Regions from separate parts of the Homo sapiens genome. Here all the other regions are linked to region 2. The links are contacts of gene promoters, found by promoter capture Hi-C in blood cells and fetal thymus (Javierre and others, 2016). All regions are on one chromosome and are shown on one strand. The core of a region is centred on a gene start or on the middle of the fragment in contact, and the rest is flanking DNA. Distances in the headings are between cores, read along the strand shown. Region 1 holds the start of TBL1XR1 (TBL1X/Y related 1). Region 2 holds the start of FNDC3B (fibronectin type III domain containing 3B). Region 3 has its middle 70 kb from the start of LINC00578.

Region 1 (2,700 bases), core at 29-2,528, 5.2 Mb before region 2:
CACCTTTAAGAAAGCTGCAAACATTATTTTGCTTTGAAGGCAGTAATAAGCGAAATAACAAAAAGGTTTCAAGTCGTATCTTAATGTAAAAGGGTGGCTGCTTCTCCAGTCCTGAGCTTATACAAAGCTCTAAAAAGCACCCTACCCCATCTTTCTGAAAGTCTTAGAAAGATTACCACCCCATTTGCTTTAAAACCTGTGAGGTGCCTCCCTTCTTTAAAAACAACCCTCCCTCAACCATACTGCCACATTATCACTCATCTAAGTTATACTTTATAAACCGCCTTGCTGTGCTTCACACATGCAAAAAGTACACAAAGTGGATAAACTTCTACTGTGGATGCCACTGTGCAGGTATATATTTAGTAAACATTTAGTTACATTATTTTATTTTTGTGAAATAAGAACTGATCGAGCAAACCTTTCAAACAGACCCACCAGATGATAAATACCACCATATGCTTGATTCACAGTACATTTGGGCATAAATACTTCAATTACAGCTTTGTGTTTAGTATCAAAAACCTTTTCTTGTGTGCGTGTTTTCTCTCCAGATCCCGTGCTCTGGATCACATTTTGAAAGTCGCTTATTACAGATAAAGCACCTTTCCAGGTACGCTTCGGAGAACCATATGTATTTACGCACACAAAGGTGTTCACAGAGATTTTCACAAACAAATGTCCATATGATGCCGCGCCGCACTCCCCCACATGCCCGCCGCGTGTGCGCCCAGCCCCCAACGCCGCCGGGCCGCCCCCCGGACACGCGGGAGCCCGCGGCGTCCTTGGGGAAACTTCGCCGGCGGCTCCACCCCGGCCACCGCGCGGGCCTCCCCGCCCCCACCCGTCTCGGGCCCAGCGGCCCACACCCGAGCACACCCAGGCCGGCCCGCGGCGGTGGGGGCGGGGCGGGCGGCCCGGGGCCCCGAGGCGCCTTCGAGTGCCCGCGGGGCTCGCCTGATTTTTAAAAGAATGCGCCGCACAGCCCAGCCCCCAGTGCCGCCAGAGCGGGCCGGGAAGGAGAGGAGCGCGGCCGCTGGAGCCCCCCCGCCGCGCCGCCGCCGCCTCCCGGCGTCCGCGGCGCCCCTCCCCCGCCGGCCCCTCCCCCGCGCGCCCGCCCGCCCGCTCGCCCGCCCGCCCGGCGCAGGCCGCTCGGGTTTGTTTTGCTGCGCGGCCGCCGCCGCCGCCGCCGCCGCGGGCCTCGCGAGCTCATTTGTGCCTGGCTGGTCCCCATTCCTCTCTCCCCAGTGTTGAGTGTCTGAGCCGTTGGCTGCTCCGAACCGTTTGGCTCTTTCCCTTAGTAACAGCTTTTACCTTCTGCCTCAATTCCTCTCCCCGCTCGCGCCCTTCCCCCGCGCGCCGCCTCCCCCCGCCGCCGGCCGCGTGCGCCCCCGCCCCTCCCCCCGCGGCGGGAGCACCTCCGCTCGCCACCTGGGGACCCGCGCCGCGCTCCCCGCCCCCGCCCGCCCGGCGCCCATCCCCCGCGCCCTCCGCTCGCTGGGGTTATAATTGCCTCTCACCCCCCGGAGGGGTTATTTTGGGGGTGGTTGGAGGCGGTGGCGGCGGCGGCGAGGAGGGGAATTTCCTTGTGCCTCCATTCCCGGGAGGGGGGAGCGGCGTTGGAGGCCACCGTTTCCAGGTAAGCGCTGGGGGCCGGACCCTGGAGTGGGGGCGGCCGGGGGCCTGGGCGGGGGGCGCGGGCCAGAGGCGGCCGGGGGCGCTGGGCCGCGGGGGGATGGGCGCGAGTGGAACATGCATTTTTCAACTTGGCCCTTGGGGGAACTGGGCTTGCGTGGGGGAAGGGAAGGCAGGGAGGGCACTTGGGGCGCCCCCATCCCCCCGTTTTCCTCTCTCAGGTTTCTTTGAAATGCTCACGTGCCTGCCCACCCCCCTACCCTTTCCCGGTCTCGGGGGATCCTCACCCTAATTATGTTGTCCCCGAAAATGTGCACCTCGGCCTTCTCCCCCTCTTCCTCCCTTCGTGCATTTACACCCCCTTTTTGTGCGTGTGTGTTTGGGGGGGGAGGCTTTCAGGAAAGGATTTGCAGCAAATTGAATCAAGGAGCCATCATGAGGCCGACTCCTTTATAGCCTATTTTTAGCAGAGGAGAAGGAGCTTTTCGGTGCATGCTATTTTGTGAAACCTCGGGCGGCAATGGAAATCTCCCCTCCCCGGGCGCGTCCCCGGCCCGGGCGCGGCGACCCCGGCCGGCGTGCTGGGGGCTGCGGGCGGCTGTTGGGGCCGCGCGTCCGGGGCGGGGGCGCCGGCCGGGGGAGGGGCGCGCGGCAGCCGGGCCTTGCTCCGGGACGTGTTTATTTGTAACTTAGTGCTTTTTATCGTCTTAAGGAGGTATTTGGTGGAGGCTCTTTGAAGTTGGGTTCAGGAGTGTAGAATTGGCAAAGTTATTGCCAGCTTCCTGGTAAGTTTTGGGTGGCACAGAGTCACGTTATTTTCTGACAGTGTAAAGGCCACGTTGTGAGGGTGGTTTCTCGGTAACTTCCTCTTTGCAACCGATTTAATTTTTTGAACAGAAGCAGACTTTTATTTAAGTGGAATATTAATCTTAAATGGCAGCTCGAGGGAAGCCATGCATGTGTTAACGTGTTCAGTATTTTTGGAAGTTCTTAATTTGCTGAAACAGGCATCACTTCGCAGTGGCAACCGGGATTAAATTTAGGTTGTGAAAATGGTGTATTTCA
Region 2 (2,700 bases), core at 87-2,586:
CTCCCCGCCAAAGGCGCCGCCGGGCGGCGCAGCCCAGTCTCCCGAGACGGCGGGCCCGGGTCCTCCGGTTCCCACGGGACGCCGGGACCCGGACCTCTGGGAAAGTTCGCGGGCACAGCCCGAGGCCCCACTTTCTGCCGAGAGTGACAGGCCCTTCCCACGCCTGCCGGCCCCAGCCCAGCCGCGGGCACCAGACGGTCCGCGCGGCCCCTCCTGGCCGCCTCGGGGCGCAGATTCCGCCCGCCCGCCCTATCCCCGGCCGAGGCGCCCCTCGGGGTGACCGACTGACCGGAGCTCCGCTGGCCCACACACCGGGTCGCCCGCTCCTTCCCGCCGCGCCCCGCTCCCCCGCCCGAGCTTCCAGCCGCCGGCTCGCCAAGTCCGGCCGCGGCCGCCGGTTACCGCCCCCAGCCCGGGGGGAGCCCGGGGGGCAGGACGGGGAGGAGGACGTGGCGTGCTCGGAGGTGGCCAGCAGCGGGGCGGGGAGTGTCCCGGAGAGGCCCAGCCGGGGACGGGGGGGCCAGGCCGGCGCGGGCTCGGGACCCTCCCCGCGAGCATCCCCGGGTTCGAGGCCCCCGACCGCCCCCGCCGGCGCGGAGAGGCGGCCCCAACTTCCAGCCCCACTTCGCACTCCCGCCCTCTTCCCTCCACCATATGGAAATCTACAGCCTCAGAAAGTGACACGTCGAAGATTCCTCGGCCTCGCCGCCCGCCCTCCCCCTCCTGGGCAGCGTTCCTGCCGCGGAGATTCCGGGAGGGGGAGCGGATTCCTCGGACAAAATCTGCTGGGAAGGCTGGGGGTGGGGGGAGGCCGCGAGCCACTGCCCAATTTTTTTTAAGAGGAATCTACCCGTTTCTTTCACTCCTCCAAACCCTGAGGCAGGGGGCACAGGCGGGGGACCCCAGCCCAGCAAGGCGGGGGCCGCCCCCTCCCGGGTCCCGTGTTCCCGGGGTGCCCAGGCGAGCACGGGGCGCCCCAGCACTCCGGCGCCAAGTTTTTGCCGGGAAGCCCAGGGCGCTCCCGGGACAGGGACGCACTTTGGCGGACTCGGCGTCAGGCCGGGGCTTTCCAGTGCACCGGGACCCGGCGATCGCGCTCGGGGTCCCGGTCTCCTCTAGTCCCCGGCTCTTGCACGCCTTACCTTCCCTAGGGCTGAAACGCGGGGCTCTGGGCGCGCCACACACCGGGTCGCCCACGCCTTCCCAGCCGGCAGCCTGGAGGATCCCTGCCGCCCCCTTCGCTGCTCCCGCCGCCGCCGCTCTCCTCCTCCAGCCGCCGCCGCCGCCGCTCAAATAACTACCAGGAGGGTTTGATGGGGGATTCCGCCATGTCAATGATGTCGGGACCACATGGGGATTTGGGGCCCGCCCATTACCGTAAACCGCCGAATATACCGGCCGCCACAATCGCAGACTCGCAGAAGCTGTTGTCCCCCGGCCCTGCCTAGCTAAGCAGAAACTCCTTTTGGTTCAGCCAGACTAAAGAAACCTGAGGCTTAGGGAACTAACAACTCCTGAATGGCGAGGGCTGCGCGTTCTGCAGATCGCCAAAGTAATATAAAGGCAATGTTTACTCAGTGATAATTAAGCCTAAAACTGACTTTTTTTCATTTACACATATATTTCGCTTTTTGTTGTTGTTAACCCCCACAGCAACCTTGTGAGCTATATTACTCCCACATTTCCCACAGCATTTTATTCATACAACTAACATAGTATGAGCAATTTTTATTATACTTAAGTTAAAATCTCTCTTTCCTCTTTCTTTTTGTTTTTTGTTTTTTGTTGTTGTTGTTGTTTGTTTTGGGGACTGCAGGCACGGGGCAGGCATGAGCCACCGCACCCTTTTTTTTTTTTTTTTTTTTTCCTTTTTTGGAAGAGAGGGGGTCTCAATAGGTTGCCCAGGCTGGTCTGGAACTCTGTCGCTCAAGTGATTCTCCCGCCTTGGCCTCCCAAAGTGTTGAGATTACAGGCGTGAGCCAACTCACCCAGCCTTATTTCACAATGCGTTTCTCAGGGACAAAGACTGTTTCTTACTTTTATCTTTATATCCGTAAAATATAGCACAGTGCAAGGACCACAATAGGACTCATTAAATAACTGTTGAGTTCATATTAAGTCAAATGTAATGTATTTCTGTTGTACAGGCTCTAAGAGGTTAACAGACTGCATCCCATGCCACCCCTCAGATTATTCAGGAGACAAGAGAGCAAAAGTTAGCCTAGAGAAGCCCCTTCCATCCATAGCTGTCCAGGTATTCTGAATAGCTACATTCAGCCTCAACTATTAAGCTACAAAGGAGCATTCAGGGAGTCACTAGAGACAATGTATTACTTTTGTTAACCTAAAAAATAATAATAGCAGTACATAATACTCTGTTAAAGTCTAAAGAACACTAAGAAATAGCTCCTTCCTTCCCTTGTTCATTTGCCATTCTTTTGGGGAGATTTTAGCCTTTTTTTTTTTTTTTTGGAGGCAATGGTGAGTCCAGAGAAATGGGGACCTCTCTCCTAAATGGCTTATTTACTGTGGAGCTCCTCAAAGGGGAACTTGAAGCCATCTTTCTATAACATAACTCCAATTCTAGGTCATAGTCCTGCATGAGAAGCCGGGGCGGGGGGTAGGCAGTAGTTCCTTAGTGCCAATAGGGTACAATCCAATAGATCCCATTTGAGTCCAAATGCCTTCTCTGGCTCCAGA
Region 3 (2,974 bases), core at 2-2,501, 5.3 Mb before region 2:
ATGAATGGGATTGGTGACTTTATAAGAGACATTAGAGAAATGATCTCTTTCTCCACCAAGTGAGGGTACAATGAAAACACTGTCGTCTGTAAACCAGGAAGACGACCTTTGCCAAGACCCTTACTATGCTGGTGCCATGATCTTAGATTTCCAGCTCCAGAACTGTGAGAAAAGTTTCTGTTATTTAACACACCCAGTCTATGGCAATTTGTTATAGCAGCTGGAACTGACTAAGACTGAGGGCAATCCTCAAAATTCATCAGGGTAATACATTTGCTTCATAATAGATAAGCATCTTTTTAAAAAAATTTTTTTGACATTTTTATAGAGACACGGTCTCACTGTGTTGACCAGGCTGGTCTCAAACTCCTGGCCTCAAGCAATCCTCCCATCTCGGCCTCCCAAAGTGCTGGGATTACAGGCATGTGCTATCATGACCAGCCAGATAAGCATCCTTTAATTCCCATAAATTTTGGAAATTGAGTTGATAAATGCTTAATAAAAAAAAAAACCTGTAATCTTTATAATTTTGTTATTAAGGGATATGTGAATATTTGGAATTTAAAAAGTCACATGAGACTTTGGCCTCTTCATGTAACAGTTCAGCCCTGTAATTCCACCTTAAAATATATGATTGAGTTATTGATTTAGAGTTTAGATTTACACAATTTTAATGATATAATATTGGAAGATTTAAGAGATTTTAGTGTTCCCATAGCTGAATTTGATTTGTTAGATTTACAACAGTTATTTAAATACTTAGAAAAGGTCTGTTAGCTAAAGCAAGCAACTAAAGTCTATAAAAGGAAAATCAAGCACATTTAAATCATAAATGAAATTTAAAGTGTTCCAGGCTGTTTATTTAAGTTTGTGAAAAGGACCAAATATTAGTCAAAGGCTGCTTTAAAAATGATTGTTAAAATTTGCTCGATTTATAAACAGAAAAATAAGATTTATAAACTGAACTTAAAAGCTTAAAAAGAACTACATGTGTGGATTTGTAACATTAATTAATTGATTATTAATTTTTAAAGCGAAAAAACTCAGTAATCTTTTCTGCACACAAAAACTGCCTTGAAGGATAATTTTTAAGCCATATTTAACAACCTTCTTGGGAACTCAGTGAGTGAATGAGGAAAAAGAATTACGCTCACGAAGAAAAGGTAGATAAAATATATTTTTAAAAATATGGCCCAGAGTTAAAACTAAATAGTATGCTTTCACTTACCCTCTCCTACCTTCCAGTAAATGCAGGAGAAATGCTACAAGATAATGTGGATGAAGCAAAAGATCAGAATTATTCAACAATTTTTATTATTGAGTACCTACTCTATGTTTTACACTATGGGAAAATGCAAGAATATGTGGCATTTATAATCTAGTGAGGCAGGTAAGACTCACAAATCTGAAACAGAGAACAGAATGATTCAGTTCAATAAACACTTATTGAGAGCCAGCCTTGCAACAGATATAGTGACTGGCTCCAGGGAGGGGGAGGCGGCTGGGCTCAAAAACAAACAATAAGCTTTATAATTAAGTGCTAAATTGCGTGTTGCAGAAGTCAAGTGAGAAGCATTCAAAGAGAGATAACAAAGTCTATTGGAACAGCTGAGATTTATGGATGAGGTAAGAATTGATCTGGGCTTTGAAGGATGGAAAGGACTTCAATAGGCAAAGGGGGTGGGGCTGGAAGAGAGGGGCACTATGAATCTAGTGTGCAAGGGAAGCAACAAAAGAAACCAGCAGAAATGCTACACATTGAATGACAGTGGAATTAGATCATGGAGCAATTTCTAAATTACACAAAACTAAAATTAAAGCTAGTTACTAGACTAAGCTACTAAACAATAATAAAAGCAATAATAATTACTACCAAACATTGAGAGGAGGTGGCATAAAATAAGATAAATCCTCATATGCCATAGCAATGAGTCAATAGGTACTATTTAAATTTGATTAATCATAAAAAAATTATGAGCATATATTACTAAACCTTTTGTGATAAACACCAAAGGAAAGATAAAGCTAAAATAGGTTGTCTCTGGGGCTGGAACTAAGGATGAGGAGGGTGGGGGACCAGAGAATCTTGTTATAAACTTTTCTGCACAATTTGAGTTGATACCACATGATTGTATCACTTTGATCCAAATATGAATATTCAAAACAAATAAACTCAGTTATTAGGCCATGTTTGTTTGACCCAGAGGTAGATTTACTACTAAGCTAATAAAGCCTAAGCCCTGATTCCTTCCAAGACCTACATCTAATTTTGTATGTATGTACTTTCTAATTTTTTTTTTAAAAAGGCCTTCCCACAGTCATATAAGCACCAGGCCCTGGATGACCCTGGTTTGAACTACAGTCTTTTTCATTTCTCACAGTTCTTTAATGCCTTTCTTCCTTGACATTTCCTAGAAAGAACCTAGTCTCTCTACTTTTTATGTTACTTTTAATCAAGGCATATGGTCTTAGTTATGCTAATAAATAATCTTGCTTCAAAATAAAATCTCTACTTGATTCAGTAAACAATATCGAGGCACGTAGTTTTGTTGTTGTTGTTGTCCATGAAAAGAGTATATTCTTTTATTGTTTTTTGTCCATACATGTTAAGTTTCAACTTTCAATAATAAAATTCAATAAATTTGATTCCTTCATCATAAAAACTTGCTTTACACATTATTTACATGTTGCCAAAGTCCATGCAAAACATCACAAGGATTTGATTGACTCCATGCATGATGCCATCACACAGAAGGAGGAGGGAGCTAATCCAGTAACATACATTCAAAGATTAAATTATAGATACGTACAGTGTATTTAGCACTGTTCATTAATATTATAACACCTTCCTCTCAAAGACAGGCATTCTTAAGCGTTAATCACAATATACCAGAATTTGCACTTAGATTTTTAAACAAAGAAATGAACAAGGGGGAGTGGTGATCTAAAAAAACGTCCCCTTGACAGAGTTTGA

What was found. Contacts are between HindIII fragments. The CHiCAGO score rates a contact against its expected background, and 5 or more counts as called.
Region 1: the fragment with the promoter of TBL1XR1 here is called in contact with the fragment with the promoter of FNDC3B in region 2 in 2 of 17 cell types (total B cells and naive B cells); the score reaches 11.7 in total B cells.
Region 3: a fragment that was not itself captured here is called in contact with the fragment with the promoter of FNDC3B in region 2 in 1 of 17 cell types (total B cells); the score reaches 5.2 in total B cells.

Annotation. Positions count from the first base shown.
Region 1 is chr3:177,196,060-177,198,759 of GRCh38, reverse strand. It overlaps TBL1XR1 (TBL1X/Y related 1), which reads left to right and starts at 1,278. Exons shown (of 16, transcript NM_024665.7): 1 at 1,278-1,639. RefSeq lists silencers at 687-1,066, 1,307-1,496, 1,607-1,706, 2,187-2,236 and enhancers at 684-1,191, 1,192-1,701. The HindIII fragment of the contact is 6,955 bases long and covers 1-2,700 here.
Region 2 is chr3:172,038,214-172,040,913 of GRCh38, reverse strand. FNDC3B (fibronectin type III domain containing 3B) reads right to left here and starts at 1,336. Exons shown (of 26, transcript NM_022763.4): 1 at 1,143-1,336. RefSeq lists silencers at 1-353, 414-663, 844-943, 1,084-1,263 and enhancers at 182-848, 849-1,516. The HindIII fragment of the contact is 7,479 bases long and covers 1-2,700 here.
Region 3 is chr3:177,370,700-177,373,673 of GRCh38, reverse strand. No RefSeq gene overlaps it. Among named protein-coding and RNA genes, the nearest start is that of LINC00578, 70 kb to the left of the region's middle. The HindIII fragment of the contact is 552 bases long and covers 976-1,527 here.